Regions from separate parts of the Homo sapiens genome. Here regions 2 and 3 are each linked to region 1. Evidence: promoter capture Hi-C in 16 types of primary human blood cells and fetal thymus (Javierre and others, 2016). All regions are on one chromosome and are shown on one strand. The core of a region is centred on a gene start or on the middle of the fragment in contact, and the rest is flanking DNA. Distances in the headings are between cores, read along the strand shown.

The links. The method cuts DNA at HindIII sites, captures the fragments that hold promoters and counts their contacts. A CHiCAGO score of 5 or more calls a contact.
Region 2: a contact is called between the fragment with the promoter of NCMAP here and the fragment with the promoter of MYOM3-AS1 in region 1, in 2 of 17 cell types (neutrophils and M2 macrophages). The highest score is 5.2, in neutrophils.
Region 3: a contact is called between a fragment that was not itself captured here and the fragment with the promoter of MYOM3-AS1 in region 1, in 1 of 17 cell types (M0 macrophages). The highest score is 7.4, in M0 macrophages.

What each region holds. Positions count from the first base shown.
Region 1 is chr1:24,064,932-24,068,416 of GRCh38, reverse strand. It overlaps MYOM3-AS1 (MYOM3 antisense RNA 1), which reads right to left and starts at 1,655. Exons shown (of 3, transcript XR_001737930.2): 1 at 1,575-1,655. MYOM3 (myomesin 3) reads left to right here. Exons shown (of 37, transcript NM_152372.4): 26 at 50-194; 27 at 388-447; 28 at 1,329-1,396; 29 at 2,416-2,526. The HindIII fragment of the contact is 6,627 bases long and covers 401-3,485 here.
Region 2 is chr1:24,554,464-24,557,948 of GRCh38, reverse strand. It overlaps NCMAP (non-compact myelin associated protein), which reads right to left and starts at 1,862. Exons shown (of 4, transcript NM_001010980.5): 1 at 1,780-1,862. NCMAP-DT (NCMAP divergent transcript) reads left to right here and starts at 1,925. Exons shown (of 3, transcript NR_109781.1): 1 at 1,925-2,133. The HindIII fragment of the contact is 15,304 bases long and covers 1-3,485 here.
Region 3 is chr1:24,400,738-24,404,222 of GRCh38, reverse strand. STPG1 (sperm tail PG-rich repeat containing 1) reads left to right here. Exons shown (of 9, transcript NM_001199013.2): 2 at 2,767-2,904. The coding sequence starts at 2,835. Among named protein-coding and RNA genes, the nearest start is that of STPG1, 11 kb to the left of the region's middle. The HindIII fragment of the contact is 5,003 bases long and covers 1-3,485 here.

The DNA.
Region 1 (3,485 bases), core at 406-2,905:
ACAAAGTTCCCAGAACAGGGAAAAGGACTCTGGAGTTTGTCCTTTTCAGAACCGCAAAATCAATTTTGACCGAGAGAAGGGCCTGGTGGAAGTGATCATCCAGAACTTGTCTGAGGAGGACAAAGGGTCGTACACCGCTCAACTCCAAGATGGAAAAGCCAAAAACCAGATTACCTTGACACTGGTGGATGACGGTCAGCCATGCCCAGCCTCGCCCCGCCCAGCCCTGCCCCGCCCTGCCCCGCACACCTGGCCTGCCCTGCAGCCCTGAGTCCTCGGCTCTGCAGCCTGCTGAGCACAGCCCCCTCGACTTCTGTCCACCCCATGTCCCCTCTCCAGACCCACACTCCTCTCGGCTCATGCCAGTTCCTCCCTCTGTGTTCACAGATTTTGACAAGCTTCTGAGGAAGGCAGATGCTAAGAGAAGGGACTGGAAGAGAAAACAGGGTAAGAGCTGCTGGGGTGAAGTTCAAAATCCCTGGCCACTGGTTCGTGCTAGAGATGCTGGACTGCGGATTAATGGGAACCCCAGCCCTGCTGGGTCCCCAAGGGAGGTCCACTGTCATTCAGTCCAGTTCTGTCCCAGTGCCAGATCAAAATAGCTCTTGCCTGACCTGAGGGTGAGAGCTGAGCCCTCTTAAATTTTGCACCCTGAAGCCAGGCACAGTGCCCCACACCTGTAATCCTAGCACTTTGGGAGGCCAAGGTGGTCAGATCACTTGAGGCCAGGAGTTCAAGACCAGCCTGGCCAACATGGTGAAACCCTATCTCTATGAAAAATACAAAAATTAGCCGAGCATGGTGGCACACGCCTGTAATTCCAGCTACTCAGGAGGCTGAGCCACAAGAATCCTTGAAACCAGGAGGCGGAGCTTGCAGTGAGCCGAGATTGCGCCACTGCACTCTAGCCTAGGCAACAGAGCGAGACTCTGTCTCAAAAATAAAGAAAGAAAGAAAGAAGGAAGGAAACAAAGGAAGGAAGGAAGGAAGGAAGGAAGGAAGGAAGGAAGGAAGGAAGGAAGGAAGGAAAAAGAAAGAAAGAAGGAAAGAAAGAAAGAAAGAAAGAAAGAAAGAAAGAAAGAAAGAAAGAAGGAAAGAAAGAAAGAAAGAAGGAAAGAAAGAAAGAAAGAAAGGAAGGAAGAAAGAAAGAAAGAAATTTGCGCTCTGAGCACCGCCCCTGCCTCACCCCAGTCCCAGCCCTGGCAGAGGCAGCATCTGAGAAGTCCATAGCCATTAGCTGTCCCTCCCCCCAGCACTGCCTGGACACAGGTGGCACCCTGGCTGAGCCTGGCTCTCTGACAGTGGGCACATTTGTTTTGCACGCACAGGTCCCTATTTTGAGCGGCCGTTGCAGTGGAAGGTCACGGAGGACTGCCAAGTGCAGCTGACGTGCAAGGCAAGTCCTGCCCTGCCCTGCCCCCAGGCCCAGTGCAGGGGGACCTGTGGCTTGTCCCCAAGCCCAGTTGCTGTCCCTGCCCACCCGGCCCCCTAAATTCCATACTCTGTGCTTGGCTGATCGCACACACAGAAAGTACCCCCGAGGAGACCACACGTAACCCAAAAAGCAAACCCACCTTCCCAGCGCCCATGGGGTAGGATTCGTGTGAGGTGGACCAGCCTTGAACGAGATCCTAGTGGCTCCAGAAGGGGTTCTGAGGGGTCAGGGGGTCTAGGAGCCCACGAGGGTTTATATGTTGAGGGGTATCCCTGTGTTTATGATTACCCTGTGCTCAGAGACTCACAGTATTATTTCATCCGCCTCACAATCATCTGTGACACAGGCATTACTATCCTCACTTCATAGATGAGAAAACAAATGGAGAAATAGCTCAAGGCCACACGGTAAGAGGGAGAGCCCAGGTTTGAACAAGTCTATCTGATTCCAAAGCCTAAGGTCCTTCTTAGCACTCTTCAGCCTGTTTAGATAACTGGGGAAGGGGAGGGTGGGTGCTCTCCCAGAAGCATATTCATTCAGTAAACTCAGAGCATCTATTTTGTGCCACTCTGCACGGTACTGAACGTACAAAGATGATGAAGTGGTCTCTGTGGGCCTTGGGAGCCCATGTTCAAGGCAGGACCATTGGAAAACAGCATCCCTCATGCTTGACCCGGATGGGGCAGGACATTGATGAATCGTGATGGAGGGGGTGACTATGGGATGCTTCAAAAAAAAGGCTTCCTGGAGGAGATGACATTTAACTGAAGCACATGGACATTTCCAAGAAAAATAGAGTAAGGCAGGGATCAAGAGGCAGAGGGAAAACCATTAGCAAGAATTCAGAGTCCAGAGGCCAGCAGAGGAGACACATGGTATGTGAAAGGACTCCACTGAGATGCCTGAAAGTGTGCACAGGTGTGTTTTTACTCAAAAAGAAACAAGCCTGACAGAGTCTCCTCATTCCCCACCTTCCCCAGGTGACCAACACCAAGAAGGAGACTCGCTTTCAGTGGTTCTTCCAGAGGGCAGAGATGCCAGATGGTCAGTATGACCCAGAGACGGGAACGGGACTTCTCTGCATTGAAGAGGCAAGTGTGGCTCCAGCTTCAGGGCTCACTTTCTCCTTTGGCTGCAAGCCAGGGAGGGCCAAGAGCTCTGGGCTGGGAGTCAGGGCAGGGCCGAGGCTAGGTTGATGCAAGTGAGGCCCTGAGCACAAAATTTAAGAGGCACCAAAAAACTCAGTAATCAAGATAAATAATATTGTATGCAATATTCTAAAAAATCAAAATTAATGCAAAAAAACTATTAAAGCCCCCAAATTTTCAATAGAGACAGAATCAGTATTACTGATTTTTTTCTTTAGCTCCAGTACTGGCCCTGCCAATGACTGTGCAGGCTTGGGCTAGCCCCCGTCGCTCTCTGACCTCAGCTTTCATCTGCAACATGAGCGGGTTGGAAGGGATGCTCTTTCAACGCCTCCTTCCTGCCCCAACAGTCTAGGAGTCGGGACAGGAAGGATGTCTCCATGTGAGGCAGATCTGGGCAGAATAAAGCAGGCCTGGAGCTCAATTCTCCCCCCAAGTCCTCCCCCATGGCCTTTGGTGGACCGTGGCCTGGTTAAGAGAGAAACACAAGGCTTGCTCTCAAACGTCAACCTTTTTCTGCCCTGCTGCTGATGTCTGTGGCCTCACTGGGTGCCCAGGAGGACTGGAGCAAACAGAGCCTTGCTGACTAGGAAGAAAACAATGATTTCAAGGTCTTCTCCCAAATCCTGGCCAGGCTGATGCCAAGTCAGCCTTTGCCACCACTGTGCAAGCTCCTCAGACAGGCTGTGGCACCAGTAGGTGCTTCAAAGTTACAGAGTTTTATTATAATCATCAGTCCCATTGGTGCAAACTTTCTGGCCTCCTAAGAGTTACCTCCCTTGATCCCCACAGCAGCTGTAGCATACAGGCAGGGCAAGGATGATGCCATGATTTTACAGATGAGTAAACTGAGGCTCAGAGTGTTTCAATGCAAAGACATAAGGCTAGAAGGTGGGGTCAGA
Region 2 (3,485 bases), core at 613-3,112, 490 kb before region 1:
GCCCAGGAACTGGCCCAGGGGATAAGCTGTTGATAGGAAACCACTACACTAGATTCCCACAGAGCCCAGCCAGTTCCTCAAGCCCAGCTCACTATATGCCCAGCTCACCGCACGCGCCGCGGCTGGCTGGCTTGGCACCATGCTGCCTCCCCACAGCTCATCTCGGCCCCAGCCAGCACAGAGCCCAGCAGGGACAAGGTGAAGAAAGCCACAGGCCATGAAGGGGTCATGGGAACCCCCTTCCCATTTCCTCCTCCCCTCCCACCAGGCATTCATGGTCCTTTGGTGTCTCTTGGCTGCCCTTCTGTCCCCTCTCCCCACTTAGAGGACATGAGTAAAGGTATTGGCCTACCTAGAGTTCCTGCCCCATCATCCACTCCCACGGGCTGATGGGACTCAGGATTCCAGGGTATTATGTGCCCTCTTCTATCCCGGTGCTCTGGCTGTGCCTGTCACTTTCTACTACCACCACCAACACACACACGCACACACACGCACACACGTGCACACACCCACATGCACACACATGCACACAAGCGCACACACACACACATGCACACATACACACATGCACCATAAGAGGGGGTGCCTATAATCTGTTGCTCTTGGCTTCTGCTTATAACTGTTCCATCCACCTAGACCACTGTCTCTAGTATCCATACCCACCTCTTAGAACCAGCCATCTGTAAATTCACTATTTGTGCCAAGCATTGTACTTCATATGCATTCATTCATTCATTGGACAAATATGTATTGAGACCTACTGCATGCTGGGCACCGTGCTGGTGCTGGGGATACAAGGGTGAACCAAATAGGCATCATCCCTGCCCCCAAGCAGCTGCTAGCAGACATTAATAGCTCATGTTCATTGAGTGCCTACTATATACCCACCCTGTATTAAACACTTTATGAGTTATCTGATTTAATCTGTCAGAGAAATTGTTTCATTTAAGGAGCACATCAAACTGAAACATAGAGAAAAGTGTGGACTTGCCCGAGACTGTTGGACGGCCTTGGCTGAGGGGTAAAGCAGGGACTCCAAAGCGCTGCCCTAACCACCACCTTTCCTTTCCCTGCCCCACTCAGATGCCACCTCCTCCAAGGGGCCTTCCAGAATCTTCTCCCAGACTCAAGGGCTGCCTTGGTCTCTCTAATCCAGCCTTCATATTTGACACAGCCATCTCCTCCCACAAGGATACCCAGAGGACTGGAGCCGTCTCTGCATCCTTCCTCAGGAGCGCTGCTGGATGAGCGACCCCCGAGCCCCTCCAAACGTGCTGTGGATGGAAACTACGGCCCTGGGCTCCTTCTCTGCCGTGGGTTTTCATCTCGCTGAATCGCAGATCTTCCGGAGGGGCCTCTGCATAGGGCAGACCCATCAAGGCGCCCATTTAACAGATGGGGCGGATAAGGCCCCAAGTGGGTAAAAGTTCCTTTATCTCCAGGCCGGGTCAAGGTCGACTCCCTTTTCTTCCAGCGAGCCTCGGCCCCTCCGCCAGATGCTTGGGTGGGGAGGGGACAAGGAAACGACCTCGTCTCCAAGACCCACTGGAGATGATCAGCCTCCCTCCCACCACCCCGGACCAACGCCCTCCCGCGCAGACCCCAGGCACTTCCTCCAACAGATGTGGGGGTGAGACTGGGGACCCCTCGTCCCCACCCCCGGGCCCTCCTTCGCCCAGCGCGGCCGGCAGGTGGACAGGAAGCCACCGCACCTGGGCCGGACCGCTCCTCGCTCCCCGCAGCCCCGGGCAACCCCGGCGACCAGGCGCCTCCTACCTGCTCTGTCGAGCCCCGCTCGGCCTCCCGCCGGCACCGCCGCGCTCCCAGCCAGGGTCCCCGCCGCCGCCCGGCGCTGCCACCCTGGGATCCCGCCCCCGCCCGGGGCGTCCCGCCCCCGGCCCCGCCCCGTGCAGGTGATCCTGGGGAGGCCGGAGAACGCGCCGGGGGTGCCAGGGTCCCGCACACTGGAGTGGCGGCGCCTCCCCGTGGTGTCCCCGCTCCTGGGTCCTTTTTGGGACTGGCTCTGGCACTCCCGGGCACTCAGTCCAGTAGAGAAGTCCAGCAGGAGGCTTCCAGGTCGGACTCCTCCGCGGGGTAAAGAGAGGGAAAGGGCCTCACAAACACACCCAGGTGAGCTCCAGGCACTTTGAGTAGGGTCTTTAAAGGAGCACGGCGCTAATCTGATTGAAGGTTTTGAGGGGCAGCTGGAGATTCAGACAACCACAGAACGTTAGACCGGGAGGAAACAGGCTTGGCAGCCGGCAAGTGTCAAGAACTCTTGCCGCTGTAGGATCAAAGGCTCCTTCCTCCCCAGGCTGTCGAGATTCCAGCTGTATCCCAGGAGCCCAGGGCGATATCCCTGGCAGGCAGCGGGTACTCAATCAATATTTATAGAAAGCGGGAAGAGATCTCGGAGAGGGGATCTCTTCTCTCAGAAACAGGGAAGCTGAGGCCCAGGAAGCAAAGGTGAGCACAAAGTCTTATAGCAGGTTAGTAACAGTATCAGGAGTGGAGGCTGGTTTCCCGGTTCTATTTTCAATTGATTTCCAGAAAGTGATTGCATCTGGGCCGACTGCCTTGCCGCTCAGTGCCTGTGAGATGCTTTCAAACTCTCCTCAGCTAAGAACTAAGATTTTTATAGGAAGAAAACACGTATTTTTATAGGAAACTCCAAGGTAGTATTTATTTATTTATTTATCTTTGAGACAGGATCTCACTCTGCAGCCCAGGCTGGAGTGTGGTGGCACAATCTCGGCTTACTGCAACCTCTGCCTCCTGGTTCAAGCGATTCTCTTGGCTTAGCCTCCCGAGTAGCTGGGATTACAGGCACATGCCACCACACCCGGCTAATTTTTTTGTGTGTGTATGTATATATATATTTTGGTAGGGACAGGGTTTCACCATGTTGGCCAGGATGGTCTTCAACTCTTGACCTCAAGTGATCCACCAGCCTTGGCCTCTCAAAGTGCTGGATGAGCCACTGCTCCCAACCCATTTTATTTTATGGAGACTGGGTCTTGCTCTCCTGCCCCAGCTGGAGTGCAGTGGCGGGATTTCGGCTCACTGCAGCCTCTAACTCCTGGGCTCTAGCGATCCTCCCACCTTGGCCTCCCAAAGTACTGGAATTACAGGCATGAGCCACCATGCCCAGCTGCAAGGTGGTATTAACAAATATTGATTGAGAGTATAATCCTGTAATTCTACTTTCTCATCAAAGACTTGAGACACTTGAGTATGGTCTTTAAGGAGCATGGTGCTAATCCATGGCTTCAAGAGCTTCCCTGTTGTGGGGGAGGCAGACCTGGTTACAGGGAGAGGCCACAATGTGGGGAGAGGAGTCCAGTGGGAGCCTGCTCTGGCCCTGAGGCCTGAGTTCCACAGTAAATGGCACTGGGGGGGGCCACTTCAGGATGCTTCTGGAAGTTTTTCCAGGTTTGTTTGTGGGGGCAAGAGCCCCCAGTGCATGGTCTCAGGTTCAAATC
Region 3 (3,485 bases), core at 496-2,995, 340 kb before region 1:
TCAATTAATATATTCACAAAGAACAATTGTATGATCATCTCCATAGATGCGGAAAAAGTATTTGATAAAATTGATCACCTGTTCCTGTTAAAAACTCTTAGGAAACAGATTAGAAGTGATAACGAGCTTTTATTTTAAAAAAACCTACAACTAACATTGTACTTAATGCCAAAAGACTGAATACTTTCCCACTCGAGCCAGTAACAAGACAAAGATGTCCATTATTGTCACTTCTGTTCAGTATTGTACTGGATGCCCTAGTCATTGCAGTATTACAATAAAAAGAAATAACAGGCATACAAATTGGAAAAGAAGAAATAAAATGTTTTATTCACATACAACATGATTATATATGTAGAAATTCCTAATCGACAAAAAAGCTACTAGAACTGAAAAAAAAAGTTTAGCAAAGTTGCAGGATACAGCATTAATATATATAAATTACTTATATTTCTCTATACCAGCAATAAACAATGAGAAATTTAAAAAATTTTAAGACCATTTTTTTGACATAAAATATGAAATACTTAGGAATCAGTTTAAGAAAATATATGCAATATTTGTACACTGATAACTGTAAAATATTGCTGAGAAATTAAATAATATCAAAATAAATGGAGAGTATACCATATTAATGGAACATAATACTCAACAAAGTTAAGATGTAAATTCTCCCTAAATTGTTCTATAGATTCAATGCAATCTCAATCAAAATCCAGGGAGGTTTTTTCTTTTAGTAGAAATTGACCTGTAAGTTATATTCAAAAGGGCTAGTACAAGAGCTAATATAGTCGAAATAATTTTGAAAAATAAGACAAAGTTGGAACTACCTGATTTTAAAACTTACTCTAAAGCAAGATAGTGAGCTGTTGGTATAAGGATATACACAGAGTTCAAAAGAACAGAATAGAGAATCTAGAAATAGCACTATGTATATCTAAATAAACACATACACACAGTAGATTTTTGATGAGTGTGCCAAGATAATTCAGTGAAAAAAGGGTATTCTTTTTAGCAGATGGTGCTGGATTAATTGAATCTCCAAATGCAATAAAATGAAAATAAAATGAACCTGACCCTTACCTTAATACTGTATACACAGTTTAATTCAAAATGGATCCTAGGCCTAAATGTAAGAGCTAAAACTATAAAACTTCTAAAAGAAAATGTAGGAGAAAATATTTGTGACCTTGAGTTAGGCAAAAATTGCTTAGATCTGACAAAAGAAATCTTAAAACCTTAAAAGAAAATTTTGACAAATTTGATCAAAATTTAAAAATTTGCATTCATAAGATAGTGTTAAGAAAATAAAAAGGCAAACCTCAGCCGGGGAGCAAATATTTTCAAAACATATATGATAAAAGGCTTGTATCCAGATGTATTAACTTGTACAACTCAATAAATAACCCAATTAAATCCAATTGTTTTTGGGTTTTGTGGTTTTTTGTTTTTTTGTTTTTTTTTGTTTTTTTTTTTTGAGATAGGCTGTTGCTCTGTTGTCCATTCTGGAGTGCAGTGGTGCTGTCATGGCTCAGTGCAGCCTTGATCTCCTGGGCTTAAGCAGTTCTCCCACCTCAGCCTCCAGAGTAGCTGGGACTACAGGCTGGCTAATTTTTTATTTTTCGTAGAGATGGGGTCTCACTATGTTGCTTAGGCTAGTCTCAAACTCCTCGCTTCAAGCAATCCTCCCGCTTCAGCCTCCCAAGGTGTTGGGATTATAGGTGTGAGCCACAATGGCTGTCCCCAATTTTTTTGTTTTAAAGGTAGAAGATTTGAACACACTTCACTAAAGAAGATAAATAAGCACATGAAAATATCCAAATTAAAATGACAATGAGATACCACTATAAAATCACTAGAATGCCTAAAATTAACAAGATTGAGCAAACACATGTTGGTGAGGATGTAGAACAACTGGAACAAAGTACTGATCTATGCAACAATATGGAAGAATTTCAAAAGCATTACACTAAGTGAAAAAAGAGTGTCTATGATTGCATTTCTGTGACATTCTAGAAAGGCAACAATTGTGACAGCAGAGCAGTGGTTGGGAGGGTGCTGACTGCAAAGGGACACAGGGAGCTTCTCAGCATCATAGATAAATTAATATCTTAATTGTGGTGGTATTTAACTTGGCTGTAAACATTTGCCAAAACTTGGAATTGTACAACTAACACTGATGAATTTTATTTGTGTATACATTATGTCTCAGTAAAGCTAAATTTAAATAAAAATAGGCCAGGCATGGTGGCTCACACCTGTAATCCTAGCACTTTGGATGGCAGAGGCAGGCAGATTACCTGAGGTCAGGAGTTCGAGACCAGCCTGGCCAACATAGTGAAACCCCATCTCTGCTAAAAATACAAATTACAGATGGTGGGCGCCTGTAATCCCAGCTACTGAGGAGGCTAAGGCAGGAGAATCACTTGAACCCAGGCAGGGGCAGCGGTTGCAGTGAGCCAAGATCACACCATTACACTCCGGCCTGGGTGACAAGAGCAAAACTCCGTATCAAAAAATAAAAAATAAAAATAAAATCCAAGCCTTCAGTAGTTCTGTAAGCAACATCAACAGTGACTTCTTACGCAGTTCCTACTGCAGGCAGCACCAGCACAATGTGCTTGGGACTTTGGGTCACTGCACTTGGTAGATCTCAGCCGGCACCCACACCATTTCTCAGTTTACCCTGTAGATAGAACAGAACCCATTTGCAATAATTAACCAATGTGAAATGATCTCTACAAATGCTGTGTTTTGCTGTTTCAGGTGCTTAGGAGAACATGCAGTAGAACTTTTCATCAAACAAATGGAACACGTCACAGAATTTTGCTAACATGGACAACTCTGCACAGAAAAATGAACGCACTGGCAAACATCCCAGACGTGCCAGTGAAGTACAGAAAGGTACATGTGTCTTTGCAGGGAGGAGATAGCTCCTGACATATGCTTATTTTAGTACATAAGAGCAAATTTGGGGGGAATAGTAAGTCCTGGGTTATATCCACAGGGCCATCCTTACAGGCATACCAAATAGGTGGCTTTAGGCCCTACTGTTTCAAGTGTGACGATTGGGAAGAAACTGAGAAGAAAGGATGAGAGAAGAAGGAGGAAGTCTGTTAAAAAATAAAAAACTAATAAACAAAACCCAGACTTGTTAGTTCCATGTATCTGGTAAGAATCTCTATCCTCAAATTTAGATATGTAAGAGATCTTTTTTTATTTCCTAGAACTCAACTTGAGTTATGACTGCAAGTCCCCATTCTGCTGGGTTGTTGGAAAGGATAACTCCAGCCATTATCAGCATAAATCCTATCTCCCTCGTGATTGTTTCAAGTTCAGAACTTTCCCAATAGTTAGTGTGATCCCAGGAGGCTGGGTTGGGGTGGGGAGGAATACTCAGGTCATTGGTCAACCATCCACATTGGTGAGATCCCCAGTGTCCCAGCTCATGTGCTCCCTTTGGTTTTGCTAGTGTTCGCCAACTA